2 separate regions of the Homo sapiens genome follow, and region 2 is linked to region 1. Evidence: promoter capture Hi-C in 16 types of primary human blood cells and fetal thymus (Javierre and others, 2016). All regions are on one chromosome and are shown on one strand. The core of a region is centred on a gene start or on the middle of the fragment in contact, and the rest is flanking DNA. Distances in the headings are between cores, read along the strand shown. Region 1 holds the start of ZC3H10 (zinc finger CCCH-type containing 10). Region 2 overlaps DCTN2 (dynactin subunit 2).

Region 1 (3,580 bases), core at 338-2,837:
TGCGTTGGGATTCCGTGTACAATCCATAGACATCTGACCTCGGCACTTAGCATCATCACAGCAAACTAACTGTAGCCTTTCTCTCTTTCCCTGTAGAAACCTCTGCGCCATGAGAGCCAAGGTGAGCGGTTCCTGGTAGTAAGCTTGGGAGGTAGGAGTTGGCGAGTAGTAGCGAGGAGACGAAGGCAAGTCCGCCATACCTCCTGAACTACTGGGTTTCAAGGGTGCCCAAGAGCTGGTGGGAGAGAGAAGGTAGTTTGTGAGAGAGCTAGCGGTTAAGTGCTATGGGTAGAGAGGGTGGGCTTAGAAAAGGGTGGAATTCTGATCTTATGTTGGGAGGGTGTCCAAGTTACTGATGTAGTTGTTACGACCAATCTTTCATACTTCTTGGTTAAGAATCTGTCCGGTTCTAAAGAGTGCATTTCATATCCTTGCTAAGCCTACTAATAAGCTTCATCCCTTTTTTTTTTTTTTTTTTTTAATTATCTGCTGCTTGTGATCGGTTGCTAGTGGAGGAAGAAGCGAATGCGCAGGTACGTTGAGACTTTGCCAGCCCAGGAGGAGGGAAGTTCCTTGGACAAAACTTAGGAGAAACATTTGGTTTGGAAATCTTAAAAGATCTTTAGGAGAAAAACGTTTGAGTGTTTTCTCCCTGGAGCCAGGATTTAACAGAACAGAGAACGATAGAACCGTAGTGCTTGTTCATTTTACCACCTCATTCTTTATGTGGACGTTTGATTTAATGTGGGAGGGAAAGGCAACTCTGGTTTGAGGTGTATTCCATTCCTGTGTCTGCTTTTCAGGCTGAAGCGCAAAAGAAGAAAGATGAGGCAGAGGTCCAAGTAAACCGCTAGCTTGTTGCACCGTGGAGGCCACAGGAGCAGAAACATGGAATGCCAGACGCTGGGGATGCTGGTACAAGTTGTGGGACTGCATGCTACTGTCTAGAGCTTGTCTCAATGGATCTAGAACTTCATCGCCCTCTGATCGCCGATCACCTCTGAGACCCACCTTGCTCATAAACAAAATGCCCATGTTGGTCCTCTGCCCTGGACCTGTGACATTCTGGACTATTTCTGTGTTTATTTGTGGCCGAGTGTAACAACCATATAATAAATCACCTCTTCCGCTGTTTTAGCTGAAGAATTAAATCATCTTGTCTATTATGTTTTTTATGGTTCCATCGGGTGGGGGTTTTCTGTCATTAGAGTTTGCCCTGTCACTACCTGTGCTATGGAGGGTATCAAAGCTATAAAGGCAACAGCCCGGGTTACGTGGTGTGGTTTGCATCTCGCTGGAGTTGGATGGGATATGGTACGTCTCTGGAGGCAGGTTTTAGGTTTCGCGGGTTATTAGGGGCCAATGCTGGTACCGCCCCTTTCCAGGAGGGCTGCCTTGGCGACTACCGCTTAGACCATGTCGTGCCTTTGGGTTGGGTTGCCATAGTGACACGCAAAGCGTGCTGGGAACGCCCTGCGGCATGTCGCACGCGTACTTCATACACCATAGAGTATGGTTCCGGGTCTGCTGGCTAGAGCGTCACTTCTTCCGCAGGAAGCGGAAGAGCGATCGGGTAGGCGGCTCTTTGTCGAAGCTAGAGGACCGGCAGGCGGCAGCAGCAACTACGGCGGCGGCGGCAGGTGAGGGAGGCGGGAGACTTAGGTGGAGGCCGCGCCCGGAGGGGAGGAGTCGGGGCCGGCCCAGCGGCTGGGCTCGGCCAGGCCACAGAAGGCCCCCCAGAACCGAGCTGGCTCGTCCTCACACCCCAGGGCAGTGCCCCTTTTCTGAGTGACCCCGCATCGCGAGCAAACGCCAGCTTCGTGACGTCACAACCCTGCCCATCCCCTCAGCTTGATGACACCTGGAGCTCCAGCTCCCCGCTTCACTTCGCGCGCCCTTAGTGTCCCATTCACGTAGCCCACGGCTGAGCGCCGGCGGCACTGCACGGAACCTGCCAAGCTAGAAGACTTGCTGCGGGAAAACTCCTAGGACTTCTTTCGCAAACTCTAGGGTGTTGGGAAGCGTCACAATCACTGCCTTCAAGTCTAATCGGCCATCCCAATGCACTGTCAGACGCTGCCTTTTTGAGGTTCCTCACTAGCCATTACTAACTCCAGCCCTTGGCGGTGCTCTGACCCTCACATCCTCTTTCATCTTGAGGCAGGGCGCCCCGCACTCTTTGTTCACTCAGGGCTGGTTTTCCAACCCCTCCTCCCAGTCCCTCCGAATTAGTTTTACTCTTCTTACTGGCAACTTCTCCCTTGGACAGGTGAAGTTCAGTTTGAACCCTGAGGAAATCCTCACGTTCTCGAAGCTTTGCCGTTTTGTCAGATTTCTTGTGACAACCACCCCATAGTCCTCCACTCTTACTCCTTCTTCCACCCAAGTCTCTGTTTTTTTCCTGCTCAGAACCCAGCAGTGATGTGGAGGTGGAGACCCACAGGAGCCCCGGACTTCACCTGAGCTACCTCAGGTATCAATTCTGGGAGAGTGGGGTGGGGAGGAGCATCATAACTAATTATCTGCTGCTGGTGCGACTTGCAACGTGAGCCAGGCTTGGATAGATGGCATTTGTACTTCACCTGGTCATTCCCCTTTACTAAAAGTTTGTATCTTCTTTTACCACTTCTTTCCTTGATTGCTTCTATTATTCTGGGACTACCTCTCTTTAGAGGAGGAGGACCCTCTTACAGATTCTCTTGTAACTCTGGCCTCTGGTTTGGTTAGTTCATTTTAGGGAGATCTGAAGGCAAAGTCACAGTAGTGGGGTGGGGGTAGGTCAAGGCCAAAGGAATTAGGAAAGATTCCCTTATTCTCAAAGGGAACAATATGAAGTTTTCCTATTTCAGCAGCAGGGGGAGCCTGAACACCGCATAGGAAAGGCTTGGGAGGTCAGACACGTGGTAGCAGGGACTCCAGGTCTTACTGGGGGTGGAGAGAGGGGAGGGCTAGAACCAGGGCAGTGGACTGACATTCCAAAGCTCTCTTGGGAAATAGGAGACTTAAAAAGCTTTTATGGAGTCTATAAATAAAGAGGATCTTTCTGGGTTGAGGAATGGTGTGGTTGGATGTCAGTGGGATCTTCACATAGGGGAGTAGGAAGGGGGTGGGGAATGGGGAAAGGTCACTTGTTCCTGTGAAATTAACTCCTTCCCACTTGACCTTATCACAAATGGTTTGTCCTAGGAAATCTAGAAGTGGAGACTCTAACTTAGAACTCCTATCCTGAAATAGAAGGGGCTTACCTCTCTGCCGTTGACAGTGATGATGGCTGGGAGGGAATACTAAAATATGACAGGTTTTGAGACTCCCCTCAAGCTGGTGACACCAGTCTCTTCACCCAGGATTTCTTGGCTTCTAGAGATTTGATGTGTACAGAGCCCTTACCTGAGGAAAAGGAAAGGGGGTTAAGGAAGTTTTGTTACCAGTGTCCCATCTTCTACAGCCCTAGTAGCTCAGTAGCCCATCTTGGGCACTATTCCCAGTTTCCTTCCAGACTATTCAGATACTGACTGCAGTTTTAATTTCACTTCCACAACTTTAATAAGGTCAGCTCAAAAGGAAAGATGAATTCCAACAC
Region 2 (4,057 bases), core at 1,478-3,977, 1.4 Mb after region 1:
CTTTAGGTGAGACAAAACAAAATATGTCAGGTACAGATGGTGAGTTAAAGGAATGATGAAGTACCTAAGTATAGCCCCGTTCTCATTTCCTCCTGCAAGGGAAGAGGCAGAGCTGCTCCTGGTCCCTTGTGCAGCCTGGCATGTTTGCCTCCACCTTGAGTGGCTGGTAACTCACCCTGCAGCTCCGAAGGATCTAGAGCAATTCTGCCATGATGTACTTACACAGAGGGTCCAGGGGACATCAAGATTCACAGGTACTAGCACATGTGCAGAACATGTTTCTTCAACCCTCTGTTCACAAGATTCACAGGGGTTGGAGGGTAAACAAAGGGGAAGGGTGAGAGTATTTCCAAGAGGCCTTATTTGAGTCTGGGCCACATAGATAAGGCTCCCACTTCCGGGCAAGGCTGGTTTAGAACTGCCAGAAGGGGATATCCAGTGGTATGTCCTGCCTTTCTAGGAGCTCTGCTGATGGGCAGATGGTTGAGGATGGTTGTATGCATATGAAAAACCATGGTGGGATTAAAAACAAGTGCTTCCTTTCACCAAGATTTCATCCAGATACCTCTTAATCACAACCTCTCTGTTCCCTAGACGATGCTAGGGTCCCAGCCAAGATTCCTCTTTCCACCAGGCACGGTGTCTCACATCTGTAATCCCAGCACTTTGGGAGGGCGAGGTGGGTGGATCACTTGAGGTCAGGAGTTCGAGACCAGCCTGGCCACCATGGTGAAACCCCATCTCTACTAAAAATACAAAATTAGCCAGGCATGGTGGTGGACGCCTGTAATCCCAGCTACTCGGGAGGCTGAGGCAGGAGAATCATTTGAACCCGGGAGGTGGAGGTTGCAGTTGAACCCGGCAGGCGGAGGTTGCAGTGAGCTGAGATCATGCCACTGCACTCCAGCCTGGGTGACAGAGTGAGACTGTCTCAAAAAAAAAAAAAAAATTCCTCTTTCAGCTCAGGGTAGAGGTGGCTCCAGATCCTGTGGTCGAGGCTGGGATGTCTCTGCATAGAGTGGGTGTAAGCACCCATAAGTGCAAACATGCAAACACAAAGGAGAAGTACACACACTATACCTTTCTCTGATTTGTCCCACCAAGCTAAAACCAGCTTGGGAGAAACTCAAGGAGAGAAAGAAGACAATGGGCCATAAGCTCAATTTCAAACCATGCGGATTGGGCAGAATAGGGAGGACAGAAAATCAAATAAAAGGAAAAGTGGTATATTAGTTTGCAGATAGTATATACCACCTCCAGGTCTGTCCTATGGGTGGGTTGAAGGTTGATGAGATTTTAGGCATGATTCCTGCATAACCTGGAGTAGTACTAGTCACCTTGATTGGAAGATTTCAAGTGCCCTGGCCCCGGGTGCCAGCTTACCTAGTACGTGACTCCCAGTCTCTTTCACTAAGGGACTCCCAGACCCCCCAGGGCTGTTTGGCTAAGTGGCTGTGCCTCAGAGGGCAAGATCTGAGGTTCTAAATCAGACAGGGAAAGTGGCCACTGTTACTCTCTGAGCCTATTCAGGCTGTACGCCAACACTGCAGCCAGGGTACTTCAAAACCATGATGACAAGGAAGATGGACAGAGCTGTAGAGTAAAACTGTCCGGGATGGATCAATATATTGCTGACCATCCATCCATTTCAAAAGGAGGGGTGCAGAAACAGAAAGACTCACAAAAGCACAAATAATCCAAGTTATCTTACAATTGCATATAAACCTCCTTCTCATCCCATTTACATTTCTCTAAAGACCTAGCATAGGGGAATATTAAAATGAGTTTTTCCCAGAGATAATCCACATACAGCCAAGAACTGAGGACTGTGGCTGTCATCCCTTTTGTTTTCTATCCTTGTCTAGAATAGCTAAAAGTCATTCCATAAAAAAATCTTCATTTGATCTTAGTCTGAGGAGGAGAAAGGAAACTGCCTTCTAACTCCAGCCCCTAAATGCCTCATGTTCAAAAACATTTAAAGCCTCCATGCTTCTATCCCATCCTCCACTGGACAGTTTTACTCTGCAGACCTCACAAGGGGAAGAGACAATGATTCATGGATCATAGCTGTTTCTAACCCTTGATTAATGATCTTTAAACATAAGGCCAGCAGGCCCCTCAGTGACCCAGCCAGGGACTCACTGGAATTTAAAACGATTAGCTACAACAATAGCACAGTGGCAGAGCATTGCATGCGAGATGGCAGATGAAAAAAACATGCAGAGAAGAAGCATTGAATGGTCTTACTTGTGCAAACTAGTGTCCAGGCAAGGTGGTGAGGAGGGAGGATGGGGGAAGCATTAGGAAAAACTCAGGTAAGTTCAAGTGCGCCAACAGTCAATGAACACAATCAAGCATACTCCAGGATCTTCTAAACTGTAAGGAAGTACTGTTTCTCATCTCAGGAGTGTCCAGTAATATCTACCTTTTGGAGAAATGAAGCCTCTGCCAGGGCCCCATCAAACTATGGCTAGGTCATTTTTTCCCCTTTTACTGCGGGTAGTTATGCCATAAAGAGAGAAGCTAAATTGTTTCTAATGAGGTTTTTCTTAATTTACTTCCCTTATTCCAGCAGTTCAAAAGCCATGAGCAGAAAGCCTCACTGACCCAAGGCAGGCTGTGGGCCCAGGGGTTAGGGTCGGGGTGTGTGTGTGGGTGGAATTCTATTTGGGAATTAGTTTTCCAAACATTTTAAGAAAAATCTCCAAGCAAGCCTATTGCCCCAATTAACCTGGGAGTGTCTGAAGTGCAAAGAGATCTTCCCAGATTGAGGAGGAAAGGGCTACAGCCCGTGCACTTTCCTGGTCCATTCCTGTTTTAGAAGATTTTACTTCCTGCTAAAATTGTTTTAAAGGGATAGTAGAAAAATCAGGATTGGCCAGGCACAGTGGCTCATGCTTGTAATCCCAGCACTCTGGGAGGCCTAGGTGAGTGGATCACCTGAGGTCAGGGGTTTGAGACCAGCCTAGCCAACATGGTGAAACCCTGTCTCTACTAGAAATACAAAAAATTAGCCGGGTGTGGTGATGGACACCTGTAATTCCAGCTACTCAGGAGGCTGAGGCAGGAGAATCTCTTGAACTCGGGAGGTGGAGGTTACAGTGAGCTGAGATCACGCCATTGCACTCCAGCCTGGGCAAAAAGAGTGAAACTCCATCTTGAAAAAAAAAAAAATTCACGATCATCTGTAGCAAAATTTAAATCTTTTATGCTTTCCTCCCCCATCCTCCCCACTATGGGAATCGGAAAATGTTTATGTTTAAGTTAAATTAGCAATTTAAATCTTTAAGGGATGTTTGAGGACATTTTTCCTTTAGTAGCCCAATTTCTTCCACAGTGGAGGAATCACAGGAAGAAAGTTATGGAGCAGTGAGGGTCAACACAACTTGACTATTCCTTTAGACAGAAATCTGGAGACCCGGCTGGCATGGTAGCTCACGCCTGTAATCCCAGCACTTTGGGAGGCCAAGATGGATGGATCACTTGAGGCCAGGAGTTCGAGACCAACCTGGCCAACATGGTGAAACCCCATCTCTACTAAAAATACAGAAAATTAGCCAGGTGTGGTGGCACATGCCTGTAATTCCAGCTACTTGGGAGGCTGAGGCAGGAGAATCGCTTGAACCGGGGAGGCAAAGGTTGCAGTGAGACAAGATTGTGCCACTGCACTCCAGCCTGGGGGAAAGAGTGAGACTCTGTCTCAAAAACCAAAAAGAAATCTGGAGACCCCCTGAAAGGTTCCACAAGAGTCTATCCATATTGGTTGTCTCTAGGGAAGAGAACTGAGTGGTGGTAGGCAGAGGTGGGAGGCAGATTTTTCACTACTTACCCTTGAATCCTCTGTTCCCTGTGCATACATTACCTACTTTAAAAACTGATAAAATTAAAGTTGAAAATAAACTGAAGATTAAGGCGGAGAATGCTGTTGTCAGGGGTTAAGAAGGTGACTGAGGCTGGGCATGGTGGCTCACGTCTGTAATCCCAGCACTTTGGGAGGCCAAGACAGGCGGATCACGAGGTCAGGAGATCGAGACCATCCTGGCTAACACATGAAACC

What was found. The method cuts DNA at HindIII sites, captures the fragments that hold promoters and counts their contacts. A CHiCAGO score of 5 or more calls a contact.
Region 2: a fragment that was not itself captured here is called in contact with the fragment with the promoter of ZC3H10 in region 1 in 1 of 17 cell types (monocytes); the score reaches 7.1 in monocytes.

The regions. Positions count from the first base shown.
Region 1 is chr12:56,116,679-56,120,258 of GRCh38, forward strand. ZC3H10 (zinc finger CCCH-type containing 10) reads left to right here and starts at 1,588. Exons shown (of 3, transcript NM_032786.3): 1 at 1,588-1,640; 2 at 2,410-2,473. RPL41 (ribosomal protein L41) reads left to right here. Exons shown (of 3, transcript NM_001035267.2): 1 at 1-121; 2 at 511-533; 3 at 804-1,289. The coding sequence starts at 110. The coding sequence ends at 846. RefSeq lists a silencer at 1,263-1,312. The HindIII fragment of the contact is 1,863 bases long and covers 450-2,312 here.
Region 2 is chr12:57,539,117-57,543,173 of GRCh38, forward strand. The region is part of intron 2 of DCTN2 (dynactin subunit 2); the gene reads right to left. Among named protein-coding and RNA genes, the nearest start is that of DCTN2, 6.0 kb to the right of the region's middle. The HindIII fragment of the contact is 6,101 bases long and covers 1-4,057 here.